2 separate regions of the Homo sapiens genome follow, and region 1 is linked to region 2. The links are contacts of gene promoters, found by promoter capture Hi-C in human tissues and cell types (Jung and others, 2019). All regions are on one chromosome and are shown on one strand. The core of a region is centred on a gene start or on the middle of the fragment in contact, and the rest is flanking DNA. Distances in the headings are between cores, read along the strand shown. Region 1 has its middle 42 kb from the start of CABS1. Region 2 holds the start of CABS1 (calcium binding protein, spermatid associated 1).

The links. The method cuts DNA at HindIII sites, captures the fragments that hold promoters and counts their contacts. A contact is called where the count stands out against the background at its distance.
Region 1: a fragment that was not itself captured here is called in contact with the fragment with the promoter of CABS1 in region 2 in 2 of the 25 tissues and cell types used here (small bowel and thymus).

What each region holds. Positions count from the first base shown.
Region 1 is chr4:70,289,829-70,296,539 of GRCh38, reverse strand. No RefSeq gene overlaps it. Among named protein-coding and RNA genes, the nearest start is that of CABS1, 42 kb to the left of the region's middle. The HindIII fragment of the contact is 6,538 bases long and covers 566-6,711 here.
Region 2 is chr4:70,331,139-70,337,980 of GRCh38, reverse strand. It overlaps CABS1 (calcium binding protein, spermatid associated 1), which reads right to left and starts at 3,000. Exons shown (of 2, transcript NM_033122.4): 1 at 1,635-3,000; 2 at 865-1,015. The coding sequence starts at 2,941. The coding sequence ends at 1,754. The HindIII fragment of the contact is 3,576 bases long and covers 967-4,542 here.

The DNA of each region.
Region 1 (6,711 bases), core at 2,585-5,084, 42 kb after region 2:
ATTATCCACAGACTATAACTTCTTTATAAGAACCCCAATACTTGGAAACAGGCCTGGGAAACCTGCATAATCCATAGAAATGGATGAAAATAAATTAAACTAAATTAGAAGGGTAAGAAGGATGGTCTCACGTGAAGTGTGTTGCCCTTCCCCCTCCCTCAAGTTAGAACAATGCCACACAGACAGGACTTCCCTGGGCCCAGGGTTTCTACAGGGGAAAAAGAAATGGGAAACACTGGGGTAATGGCTTGGCTAGACCTCCTAGAGTCAGGTAGAAAAAAGTAAAGGAAGCAGGGCTCACAGAGACCAACATGAAGATCTTGGTGACACCTCTGTTTTGCTACCAATTGTGGTACCCTATCAGAGATATCAGCTAACTACATAGCCCACCTGCAAAGCTGAGCTGTTTACTTTAAGAGGCATGGTGGGAAGTTCAACTGGCATGAATCCCTAAACAGCTAGTCTGCATGCCTAGCCTTGCCCAGGCAGGGAGACAACTGCCTCTGTATGTTTCAGAGAAGTATGCAGATAGTTTAAAGAGTTTTAAGAGTGGATCAGCTTAGCCAAATAGTCTGTCCATCAACCTCCATGCATTTCAGAGAAGCATAGGGGCTAGGTTTGCTTGAATTGGGAGGCCAAGTAGCAGCTCTACTAAGTCAAATGCCCACCCTGTGACCTTGCCTTAGTAGGGAGATGCCTACCTCTGTGCCTATTGGAGAAGCATGGGGCTAAATTCTCTCATTCTTTAAGGTCAAATACCAGCTTGATTCAGCCAAAAGCCCACCCCATGTCTCTGCCCAGGCAGAGAGCTGCCCACCTCTGCACATTTTGGAGTGTAGGAATTACTAGGCTTGCTTGAGCTGGAAAGCCAAAGAGCAGCTCAACCCTGTCACAAAACTCACTCTACAGCTCTGCTGAAGCAGGGAAATGTCTGCTTCCATGCACTTCCATGCCAATTGTAGGGGCTAGAACTGATTGACCCACAAGGCCAAAGAGAGGCTCAGCTCAGCCACAAAGCCCACCTCCTTGTGCCAACAAGGCAGGGAAGCAATAGTCAATCATGCATTTCTTTTCTTTCTTTCTTTTCTTTTCTTTTTTGTTTTTGGAGTCTTGCTCTGTCACCCAGGCTAGAGTGCAGTGGTGCAATCTCGGCTTACTGCAACCTCCGCCTCCTGGGTTCAAGTGATTCTTCTGCCTCAGCCTCCTGAGTAGCTGGTATTACAGGTGCCTGCCACCACACCCAGCTAATTTTTGTGTTTTTAGTAGAGATGGGTTTCACCATGTTGGCCAGGCTGGTCTCAAACTCCTGACGTCAGGTGATCTGCCCACTTCGGCCTCTCAAATTGCTGGGATTACAGGCTCAATCATGCATTTCTATGGAGAATAGCCTCTGGTCCCACATGTTCAAAGCTCTTTGCCTAACCTTGGACCCCAGCCTGTATATCTGTCCAACTACAGGTCTTAACTAGCAAATCACCCAACCAGGGAATACATCCTGTTTTCAGTTTGACCAAATGCCATCACAGTACCTAGCCATCAGCTTTGCCTGGTCTTCTGAGTGAGTGGGGGCACAGCCAGCAGCCCAACCTAACATCAGAACAAAGACAGCAGTTCAGCCAAATAGATAATTCACAACAAACTTCCTTCTTGGCATTGTCACCATCTGACCCTTCAGAGTCACAGGTTAAACTAAATAGTAAAAGTCTATCCCTGCCAAGGAACACTCATAAAAGCCAGAAGAGGTGGCTGTCTCCTCATTTGCATACACAATAATGCAAGGACACAAGAATTATGAAAATTCAGGAATTATAGTAAGTCCCCCCGCCAAAAAAATTAATAAAACTCCAATAATGGACCCTAAAGAAAGAGATCTATTAAATAACTGATGATGAATTTGCCATACTCCTCTTAAAGAAGCTCAATGAACTGCGAGAATATATCATAGAAAATTAAAAAAAATTGAAAAACATACACAAAGTGAGAAGTTTGACAAAATTATAAGCAACAAAAAGGCCAAATAGAAATCCTATAGATGGAGACTAAATGGAAAAATTCAATAGGAAGCTTCAATAGAAGACTCAATCAAGCAGAAGAAAGAATCAGTGAACTTAAAGATAGAATATTTGAAATTATCCAATCAAAGGACCAAAAAGTCAAAAGAATAAAAAAGAATGAAGAAAGTCTATGGGAATTATGGGACACCATAAGAAGACCCAAACTTGGCATAATAGGATGGAGAATAAAGAAAAAAAAAGGGCCAGAAAGCAGATTTAAAGAAACAGTGACTGAAAACTTCCTTAATCTGGGGATAGATGCCAACATCCATGTAAAAGAAGCATAGAAGTCACCAATTAAATTTAGCACAAAAAAGAGTTCACCAAGACACTAGTAATCAAACTGTCAAAGACAATAAAAAAATTCTAATGGCAGCAAGAAATAAAAAACATATCATGTATAAAGGAGTCACAATACAACTACTAGCGGATTTATTGGCAGAAATCCTTTAAGCCAGGAGAGAGTGTAATGATATTTTCAAAGTGCTGGAGGAAAAAAGCAAAACTGCCAATTAAGAATAATTTACCCAGAAAAGCTGTCTTTCAGAAATGAAGAAGAAATAAAAACTTGCTCAGACAAACAATAGCTAAGGGAGTTCATCACCTCCAGGTCAGCCTAACAGAAACTGTTAAAGGGAGTTCTTTAAGCTGAAACAAAAGGCCACTAGTTAATAACATAAAACATATGAGAACACAAAACTCAATGGTATAAATAATGTAGAGCCACATTAAAAATACCATGAGACTGTAATGGTAGTCCATAAAACAATTATTTCACCAGTGTGAGTGTTAAAAGACAAAATTATTAATAACAACTATAGCTAAAATAAATTGTCAAGGGATATACATTATAAAATGATACAAATTCTAACCTTAATACCCCACTTTCAACAACGGACAGATTGTCTAGGTCAAATAAATAAAAAATTATTGGACTTGAACAACACTTCAGACCAAATCAACCTAACAGGCATATACAGAACATTTCATCCAACAGCAACAGTACACAATTCTTCTCAAGCATGCATAGAGCATTCTCCAGGATAGATCATATGCCATAAAACAAGTCTTAGAAAATTTAAGAAGATTGAAATTATATAAAGTATCTTTCCCAGCCACAATGGTATGAAACTAAATGAGAAATCAATAACAGGAGGAATTTTGGAAAATTCACAAATACATGAAAATTAAACATCATGCTATGGGACAACCAATGAAATAATCAAGAAATTAAAAAAAATCTTGAGACAAACAAAAATAAAAACACAACATACCAAAACGTATGGGTTGTAGAAAAAGTTTTAAGAGGAACATTTATAGCAATAAATGCCTATATCAATAAAAAAGAGGACTTCAAGTAAAAAACTTAACTCCTCAAGGAACTAGAAAAAGAAAAAACTAAGCCCAAAATTAGAATAAGAAAAAAATAATAAAGATCAGAGCAGAAATAAATGAAATAGAGAATCCAAAAGATCTCTATTGCAAAGGATCAATGAAACTGAGTTGGTTTTTTAATAAGATAAAATAGACAAAACTTTATCTAGATTAACTTAGAAAAGAAAGAAGACTCATATACATAAAATTAGAAATAAAAGATGAGACATTACAATGAATACCATAGAAATAAAAAGATCATAAGAGATTACTATGAACAAATTATGCCAAAAGATTGAATAACCTAGTAGAAATCAATAAATTCCTAGACATACAATCTACCAAGAATAAATGGTGAGAGAATGAATTTAACCAAACTGCTAGGTGATACCAAATACAAATTTCACTGGTATTTTAAGAATAAAGAAAAAATATTTTTCTGAAGTTAAACTTAAAATGTGGATACGAAATTAAAACTTAACAGATACATTTTTTGAAAATATCATCATTCTTTGCAATTACTAAAAAATTAGGTTTTCCCATTCAGTTTGCTAATGAGATTAATATTTTTATTTAAATTCTTACCCGAAGAAAGCATTTCATCTTTGATTAGGAATTGTACATAACTAAGAAGTTCTTCACCCACCCAGTACCCACTCAGTGCCACACACATCCCACTTGCCATCCCCTCCCAACTCCCATCATTTAGGATAATCCCAGTGGTTGTGGGATAGAGAGTTCTAGGAAGGTACATAGTGTGCTATTAAATTCAGGGGTCAGCTTTATAGAACTCAACTCCTATATGTATGATGTATGACATGGTGTACTATGTATTATTATGTTCCAAGAACAGGTTCCATGAGATTCTAAGATTCTGTGATATTATTTGAGTTTTCCTTTCTTCTTCTATCTAGTTTATAATTTTTAGTCTATAGGATGCTATGCATGTTCTTCTGAAAATATTTTATAAAACCTTATTTTATTTTATTTTTTTTTTGGGAGATGGAGTCTCACTCTCTCACCCAGGCTGCAGTGCAGTGGCATGATCTCGGCTCACTGCAACCTCCGCCTCCCGGGTTCAAGCGATTCTCATGCCTCAGCCTCCTCAATAGCTGCAGTTACAGACAGCCGCTACCACACCTGGCTAATTTTTGTATTTTTAGATAGGGTTCCGCCATGTTGGCCAGACTCTTCTCCAATTCCTGATCTCCAGTGATCAGCCTACCTCCGCCTCCCAAAGTGCTGGGATTACAGGTGTGAGCCACCGTGCCTGGCCCATACTTTTCTTATTGATAAGTCATCATTGTTAGACGACCTACAAATTGCAATAAATATATTGAATAATCAAACCTATTTCTGACCTGTGCTAGTCTAATTCTGAGGAACACAACGTTGATTTCCTAATATGACAGTAGTATTGGTGGAAAATGGACACTGTTTCCATGGTGCCAGATTATTAAGACAAGTACACAGAACAAACGGCTTCTGGCACCAGAATTTTGTGAAAGAAAAAGGGAAAGTAAAAGTGGTCTGTAGTTAACTTAGGGAAACTCAATATAAATAAGTTTCACAAAATCTCTGAGAGCATGTAGCTTGTGACAGTGATGGTAGGGTCATCAGTTTCACTGGCCTTGGTGCCAACAGATCCATTTTAGAACCATAATCAGAAAACTTTGAAACCACTTGGTGTTTTTCTCTGAGTCTGAACTGAATCAGTTTACATCATGATATTTCCCCACAAAATAGAATGTCTTCCTGTGTTCCCCCTTTCAGTAGATGGTATGCTATTTACCTAGTAGTATAATCTGGAATCCTGAGTCAGTCTTGACTTTTCTTCTTATCCTCCCATGTCCATCAGTCACTAGAGCCTCTCTACATTTTACTTCCTAGATAGTGTTTTGAATCAGTTCACCTCTGATCATCTTCATTAGCAGCATCCTATCCAAGTTAACATATCTCATCTTTTACTTGGAAAGAGCAATAGTTAAATCTGATAATTAAGAAACTTCATAAATTAACACTATGGCTTCTATGTTTATTACTCATCTTAAGAAAACAATGGTTCAATTTCTTATTTACAGTTATAGAATGACATATATATTGTGAAATGTCTCAGAATTTTTGGAAATTGTTCAAGTACATTTTTATAGTTTTCCTCAATATTCTAAAGTTTAATAGATTGAAGAATAAACCAATATTTGCAATAACTTAATAAGAGGATATCAATAATGTTTTCTCCATCAGGTTAAACATATTTAAGCACTTAAGCCCAATGTTCCTATGTTAGGGGAATTTGTGAAATGTGTCTACCCAACTGCACCCCCATTCCAACTCCTCACAACCCAGTGGACTTAGAATCTCCCAAATTTTGGAGACCGTGCATTACATTATCTACTAATCTACTTTCTGAATACTTTTTCAATTGCTGTGGCCATGCATCTGAGAAATGCAGGTAATTTTCACTGGGCATAATAGTTTTTCTAATTCCATAGTGATTTATTTATTATTTTCACATATTCATCTATGTTATACTACACAGCAGAACAATGGTACGTGTGCTGGTTCTGAACAACTATAGCTGTGAGAAATCACCAGTGTACTTAAGAACAAGAAAAGCAAAAACTTTTGCAAGGCATTCCTAGAATAACAAAAAGGAGCACTGAACTTGAGTTCAAAATGCCCAGGTTTGACTCTCAGCTCTGTCATTTTATTACTATGTGAGCTTGGTTAACTTATATATAAATGCTATGTTTCTCATCTATAAAAAGAGAATAATTAATTTACTATTTACTGGAATAAGTTGATGTCAAATTCAATTAGAATACTCACAGAAATGCTTTGCAAACTCTGTAGCACTACATAAAAATATTAAGCTTTAACTTGTGCGTTGAATTTTCCCAATAATTTTTTATTTATAGATATATTTAATGTAATTTTTTAACTCATAATTCCTGAATTTGGAATGACAACTTTTATTTATTCATTCAATAGATATTTACTGAGTATTCATTTTTTTTTAGCAGGCATTGTGGATTCAATAGGAAACAAGACAGGCCCAGTTCCTGCCGTGAGGGTATAATGATTTATTGGAAAGAGGTATAACCAACAAAAAAGAGTGGCTGTGATCGATTGAACTCTGATTAACAGAGCAAGTATGCTTCCACTCAGCCATTTCTTTTGGACAAACTTTCTTCATTCACCGTTTTTTCCAAGAACTTCACAAAGATCAGAAGTCAGAGCTTGGCTGCACTTAAATCACTGAGTGCCTGCGTGATAATCGATA
Region 2 (6,842 bases), core at 1,751-4,250:
ACAATAATCACTGTCAATCCTCAAATGGCTAAAACTGATGTGTACTAGCTTTATTTTAATTTTTTGAATATGTCTATTGAATATTTTTCACATGTTCATTAACAATTTGTGTTTCATGAATTATGTTAATTTCTACTGTTCATTTAAAATACTTTGTAGAAACTTTTATAGAAAAATGATAGTAATCTTTTCACTGCTATGTAAAATAAAATTAGTTATTTACTTTTTAATTTTATGTTAATTTTCTTTGTTTCAGAATTTTAACTATTCATGGTGTCAAACCTATCAATCTTCTTATCACCTTTTCATATATGCTTACATTTCTCAGGTCCATTTGGATAGATATACAGGTACATTTCCTCCTAAGTTTTTGTATGGTTTTAGTTTTTACATTAAAGTATTTAATCCATGTAGAATTTATTTTAAAGTATGGTCTTAAAAAGAATTTAAAAATTTGTTTATTATTCCAACATATTTTTTTCCCAAATACTGATTGTTCAAGTAAGATTAACTATTATATCCCATGTTTTTGAAGTCCACTTCACTGTATAACAAATTTTTGTTTCGTAATTTGTTTCTGGGTTTTAACACACTGTTGTGATTATTCTAGTCTATAGTTTATCTAATGGTGCAAATCCCTATACAAACCCCCCGTACATAATATCTTTCATTCACTTGGTGTTTTGGCATTGTTCTTATTTCTTTTTTTAGTGTAATACAATTATGAATCTCTATAGAATAATTTTACTTCTGGGGATTAGAGCTATATTATTCTTTAAACAAACAATGAATTTTCATTTCTCTTTATTTCTCCTAATTTGAGAAGTCTGTAGTAGAATATCAAACACACCTACACACAGTAAATCAGTTGCTTGCCAAAAAGATTTATTGAAGAAAAATGAGCAAAGTGAAAACAGACCCATTTAAGTAGTCTGTGCCAGAAAAGAATGAAGATTTATGTCCTTGAATCGCTAACAAGAGTCATAAGAAGAGTGTGATATTCAGTGTTTAAGACCTGGAAAACATGGACAAAAATTCAGAAAACACATTTTAACAGAAAGAAAATTAAATTGATGTATATGTTTACAGAACATTTTTCTGACAAATATGCATATTTGTAAAATATCATTTTGCTTTAGTTTGTATCTAACATGTGCCAAGAACCCTATCATAAATCTTATGTATCTTACATGTGGGTGCTAAACAATTACTGAATTGTCTTAATTCTTATATGAGGATTAAAAATTTTTTAAATAGAAGAGAATCACTGATGAAATACTAATGAAAAAATTGCTTAGAACAAGCATTTTGGGAGAACTTTTTAGGCTATGGTAATGTTTTGGAGAGGTTAATTTGCTTCTCTTCATATCCTTAATTCTCACTTAAGTATAATATTGACTGTTAACTAAATGATATGCATCATTAAATGTTGTAGAAATGAGCCCCTACATTGCTCTGTCTTCATACTCCCTGAAGGCTAGGACGAAAAATTTTACATTAAGTAATTGTTAGAATATTGAAACTTTGTGATACTAGGGGGACCCTTACACTGCGGTTTTTTTTTCTAAGTTTCCGTAAATCTGTTACATGACCTGTAGTCCTAAGCATCTGCATTTATTGAGTCGAATACTTGCCTTAAATGCCCACATTCTTTCATTTCTAAAGGTTTTTGCTTGTTGGAAAAATTTCTTAGATGTTAAGGCTAGCTGGCTAGACTATTGCACAATTCTACATGGTATCCCTTTTGTTGCTTTTAAATCATGAACTCATCGGGTTCTTCTTTCAGTAGTTCAAAGATATCCGTTTCAGTTGTGGAGGTGTCTTCCTTATAGTCTGGGGTATCTAATACAGAGGTAGTTCCAGAAAATGGCTCAGTGATCTTAGGTACAGTCTCTGTATTATCAGTTTCAGACAAATCTTCTTCTGTAGATGATTCTTCCACTAGGTTTGTAGCTATTGATGCAGGGACAACGAAGTCATATCTGGATTCAACAGCAGTAAGCAAAACAGAATGGGTCTCTGCTTCATTTGCAGTATCTCTCTCCATCCAAATACTGGCTCCCTCGGTAGTTTCTTCATCAGTTAGCAGAGTATCTTCCCGTTTATCTTTGTCTTTTTCAGCAGAGGTAGTGAGTTCAAACACAGTGATAAACTTCTCATCAGAGTCAGTTAATGTAGCCACAGCACTGGTGTCATCTTCTAAAACACTTAGGTCAATTTCGGTTATTTTCTCTTCTTCAAGGGCAGTTATGTCTGGAATAGTAGTGAAGCTTTCTTCAGGAGCAGGAGGGATTTCAGCCTCAGGAATAGTGGAATCAGTGACCTGGACAGCCTCATCAGCAGGGACATTGGATTTGATGGAGGAATTATAATTGCTCATATCAGCTTCATCCTTTTTACGTGGAAAGGCAGGAGCGTCAGCAACACCAGCACTGCTGTCCTTTAGTGTGCCAGAGACTTCAGAGGTTATTGAGATCTCTGCATCTCCTGTGTCAATGGTAGCTAAGAGGATATCTTCTTTTGCTATGTCAGTGGAAAAATCTATTAAAGAAACAGTAGTAACTGGTGATGAAATATTCCCAATTTTCACTGGCATGAAATGTTCGGTAATAGAGTCTCTTGTTATGGAGTTTGTAGTGCCAGTCAGAGAGGTAATTTCTTTCTGTAGGTGAGTTGTTGACTTAATAAAGTCGGTCCCCATATCATCTTCTGATTTGAGTTTTTCCTTTTTAGCTGTCAGTTTGTTGTCTGTAGTTGTTGAAAAATCGCTTTCTAGCATATATTCATTTACTGAAGTGACGTGGTCTCCTTCTGAAGTAATAGTTGTTTCTGATTTGGGAATAGCATTGTCAGCCCCAAAGAAAATGGTTGCTGCAGTTGGTGTTTTACTGCTTTCTGTTGGAGGATGAGAATAAATTTTGGGCAAACCATCTTCAGCCATGGGGCGAAGTGGCACTGTGCACTCTCACAGGTCTTGCTTCTGGACTCAGTGGTATCTCTAGGCAGGAGAGCAGTGTTCATCAGAGTGATTAAAGCTTGGGTCATCATGGTGATTGTTGCATCAACTATGGGAGCAATGTCACTGGGTCTCCTTGGAGGTTGTTTCTAGGCTGCGATTGGTTATCTAATTGCAGGAATATTGAATGAAAAGACTATAGAGTCCGCTCTGATTATGAAATCAAATTCACAGCCAAGCATTTCAATTGCAGGGAACTTAAGATTTACCATGTTTCTGTTTATAAGGAAAATGTCTCCTGATATAGAGCTAGGGTTACTTGAAACAGACATAGCAGAGACTGCCAGGCACCTTTTGGGTTTAGAATTAGTAAGGAAAACTTTGGAAGCCACAAGTTTATCAGCATCAGCTTAAAGTCGTCTATCTTCCAAGCAAGTAACAGAGTATTTTTGAGGTGAAGCCATTTTCCCTTAAGATTCATAGTATTAAAAAAAATTGGTATCTAAAAAAATTAATGGTGTTTTTGTCAGTAAGTATAGCTACAGAAGGTAATTAGGTAGCAGGGAATTCAGTTAGTTCCCTTATTCATAACAGGAAGTCCCACTTTTTCAGTAGAGATAATAACTAATAGTTATTGGCCTGTTTGGGTCTTTTTTTTTTTTTTTTCTTTTTTTGTTTTTTGTTTTTTTTTTTTTCATTTATTTTTATTTTATTTTATTTTATTTTTTTTATTATACTCTAAGTTTTAGGGTACATGTGCACATTGTGCAGGTTAGTTACATATGTATACATGTGCCATGCTGGTGCGCTGCACCCACTAATGTGTCATCTAGCATTAGGTATATCTCCCAATACTATCCCTCCCCCCTCCCCCAACCCCACCACAGTCCCCAGAGTGTGATATTCCCCTTCCTGTGTCCATGTGATCTCATTGTTCAATTCCCATCTATGAGTGAGAATATGCGGTGTTTGGTTTTTTGTTCTTGCGATAGTTTACTGAGAATGATGGTTTCCAATTTCATCCATGTCCCTACAAAGGATATGAACTCATCATTTTTTATGGCTGCATAGTATTCCATGGTGTATATGTGCCACATTTTCTTAATCCAGTCTATCATTGTTGGACATTTGGGTTGGTTCCAAGTCTTTGCTATTGTGAATAGTGCCGCAATAAACATACGTGTGCATGTGTCTTTATAGCAGCATGATTTATACTCATTTGGGTATATACCCAGTAATGGGATGGCTGGGTCAAATGGTATTTCTAGTTCTAGATCCCTGAGGAATCGCCACACTGACTTCCACAATGGTTGAACTAGTTTACAGTCCCACCAACAGTGTAAAAGTGTTCCTATTTCTCCACATCCTCTCCAGCACCTGTTGTTTCCTGACTTTTTAATGATTGCCATTCTAACTGGTGTGAGATGATATCTCATAGTGGTTTTGATTTGCATTTCTCTGATGGCCAGTGATGATGAGCATTTCTTCATGTGTTTTTTGGCTGCATAAATGTCTTCTTTTGAGAAGTGTCTGTTCATGTCCTTCGCCCACTTTTTGATGGGGTTGTTTGTTTTTTTCTTGTAAATTTGTTTGAGTTCATTGTAGATTCTGGATATTAGCCCTTTGTCAGATGAGTAGGATGCGAAAATTTTCTCCCATGTTGTAGGTTGCCTGTTCACTCTGATGGTAGTTTCTTTTGCTGTGCAGAAGCTCTTTAGTTTAATTAGATCTCATTTGTCAATTTTGTCTTTTGTTGCCATTGCTTTTGGTGTTTTGGACATGAAGTCCTTGCCCACGCCTATGTCCTGAATGGTAATGCCTAGGTTTTCTTCTAGGGTTTTTATGGTTTTAGGTTTAACGTTTAAATCTTTAATCCATCTTGAATTGATTTTTGTATAAGGTGTAAGGAAGGGATCCAGTTTCAGCTTTCTACATATGGCTAGCCAGTTTTCCCAGCACCATTTATTAAATAGGGAATCCTTTCCCCATTGCTTGTTTTTCTCAGGTTTGTCAAAGATCAGATAGTTGTAGATATGCGGCATTATTTCTGAGGGCTCTGTTGTGTTCCATTGATCTATATCTCTGTTTTGGTACCAGTACCATGCTGTTTTGGTTACTGTAGCCTTGTAGTATAGTTTGAAGTCAGGTAGTGTGATGCCTCCAGCTTTGTTCTTTTGGCTTAGGATTGACTTGGCAATGCGGGCTCTTTTTTGGTTCCATATGAACTTTAAAGTAGTTTTTTCCAATTCTGTGAAGAAAGTCATTGGTAGCTTGATGGGGATGGCATTGAATCTATAAATTACCTTGGGCAGTATGGCCATTTTCACGATATTGATTCTTCCTACCCATGAGCATGGAATGTTCTTCCATTTGTTTGTGTCCTCTTTTATTTCCTTGAGCAGTGGTTTGTAGTTCTCCTTGAAGAGGTCCTTCACATCCCTTGTAAGTTGGATTCCTAGGTATTTTATTCTCTTTGAAGCAATTGTGAATGGGAGTTCACCCATGATTTGGCTCTCTGTTTGTCTGTTGTTGGTGTATAAGAATGCTTGTGATTTTTGTACATTGATTTTGTATCCTGAGACTTTGCTGAAGTTGCTTATCAGCTTAAGGAGATTTTGGGCTGAGACGATGGGGTTTTCTACATAAACAATCATGTCGTCTGCAAACAGGGACAATTTGACTTCCTCTTTTCCTAATTGAATACCCTTTATTTCCTTCTCCTGCCTGATTGCCCTGGCCAGAACTTCCAACACTATGTTGAATAGGAGCGGTGAGAGAGGGCATCCCTGTCTTGTGCCAGTTTTCAAAGGGAATGCTTCCAGTTTTTGCCCATTCAGTATGATATTGGCTGTGGGTTTGTCATAGATAGCTCTTATTATTTTGAAATACGTCCCATCAATACCTAATTTATTGAGAGTTTTTAGCATGAAGGGTTGTTGAATTTTGTCAAAGGCCTTTTCTGCATCTATTGAGATAATCATGTGGTTTTTGTCTTTGGCTCTGTTTATATGCTGGATTACATTTATTGATTTGCGTATATTGAACCAGCCTTGCATCCCAGGGATGAAGCCCACTTGATCATGGTGGATAAGCTTTTTGATGTGCTGCTGGATTCGGTTTGCCAGTATTTTATTGAGGATTTTTGCATCAATGTTCATCAAGGATATTGGTCTAAAATTCTCTTTTTTGGTTGTGTCTCTGCCTGGCTTTGGTATCAGAATGATGCTGGCCTCATAAAATGAGTTAGGGAGGATTCCCTCTTTTTCTATTGATTGGAATAGTTTCAGAAGGAATGGTACCAGTTCCTCCTTGTACCTCTGGTAGAATTCGGCTGTGAATCCATCTGGTCCTGGACTCTTTTTGGTTGGTAAACTATTGATTATTGCCACAATTTCAGATCCTGTTATTGGTCTATTCAGAGATTCAACTTCTTCCTGGTTTAGTCTTGGGAGAGTGTATGTGTCGAGGAATGTATCCATTTCTTCTAGATTTTCTAGTTTATTTGCGTAGAGGTGTTTGTAGTATTCTCTGATGGTAGTTTGTATTTCTGTGGGATTGGTGGTGATATCCCCTTTATCATTTTTTATTGTGTCTATTTGATTCTTCTCTCTTTTTTTCTTTATTAGTCTTGCTAGCGGTCTATCAATTTTGTTGATCCTTTCAAAAAACCAGCTCCTGGATTCATTGATTTTTTGAAGGGTTTTTTGTGTCTCTATTTCCTTCAGTTCTGCTCTGATTTTAGTTATTTCTTGCCTTCTGCTAGCTTTTGAATGTGTTTGCTCTTGCTTTTCTAGTTCTTTTAATTGTGATGTTAGGGTGTCAATTTTGGATCTTTCCTGCTTTCTCTTGTAGGCATTTAGTGCTATAAATTTCCCTCTACACACTG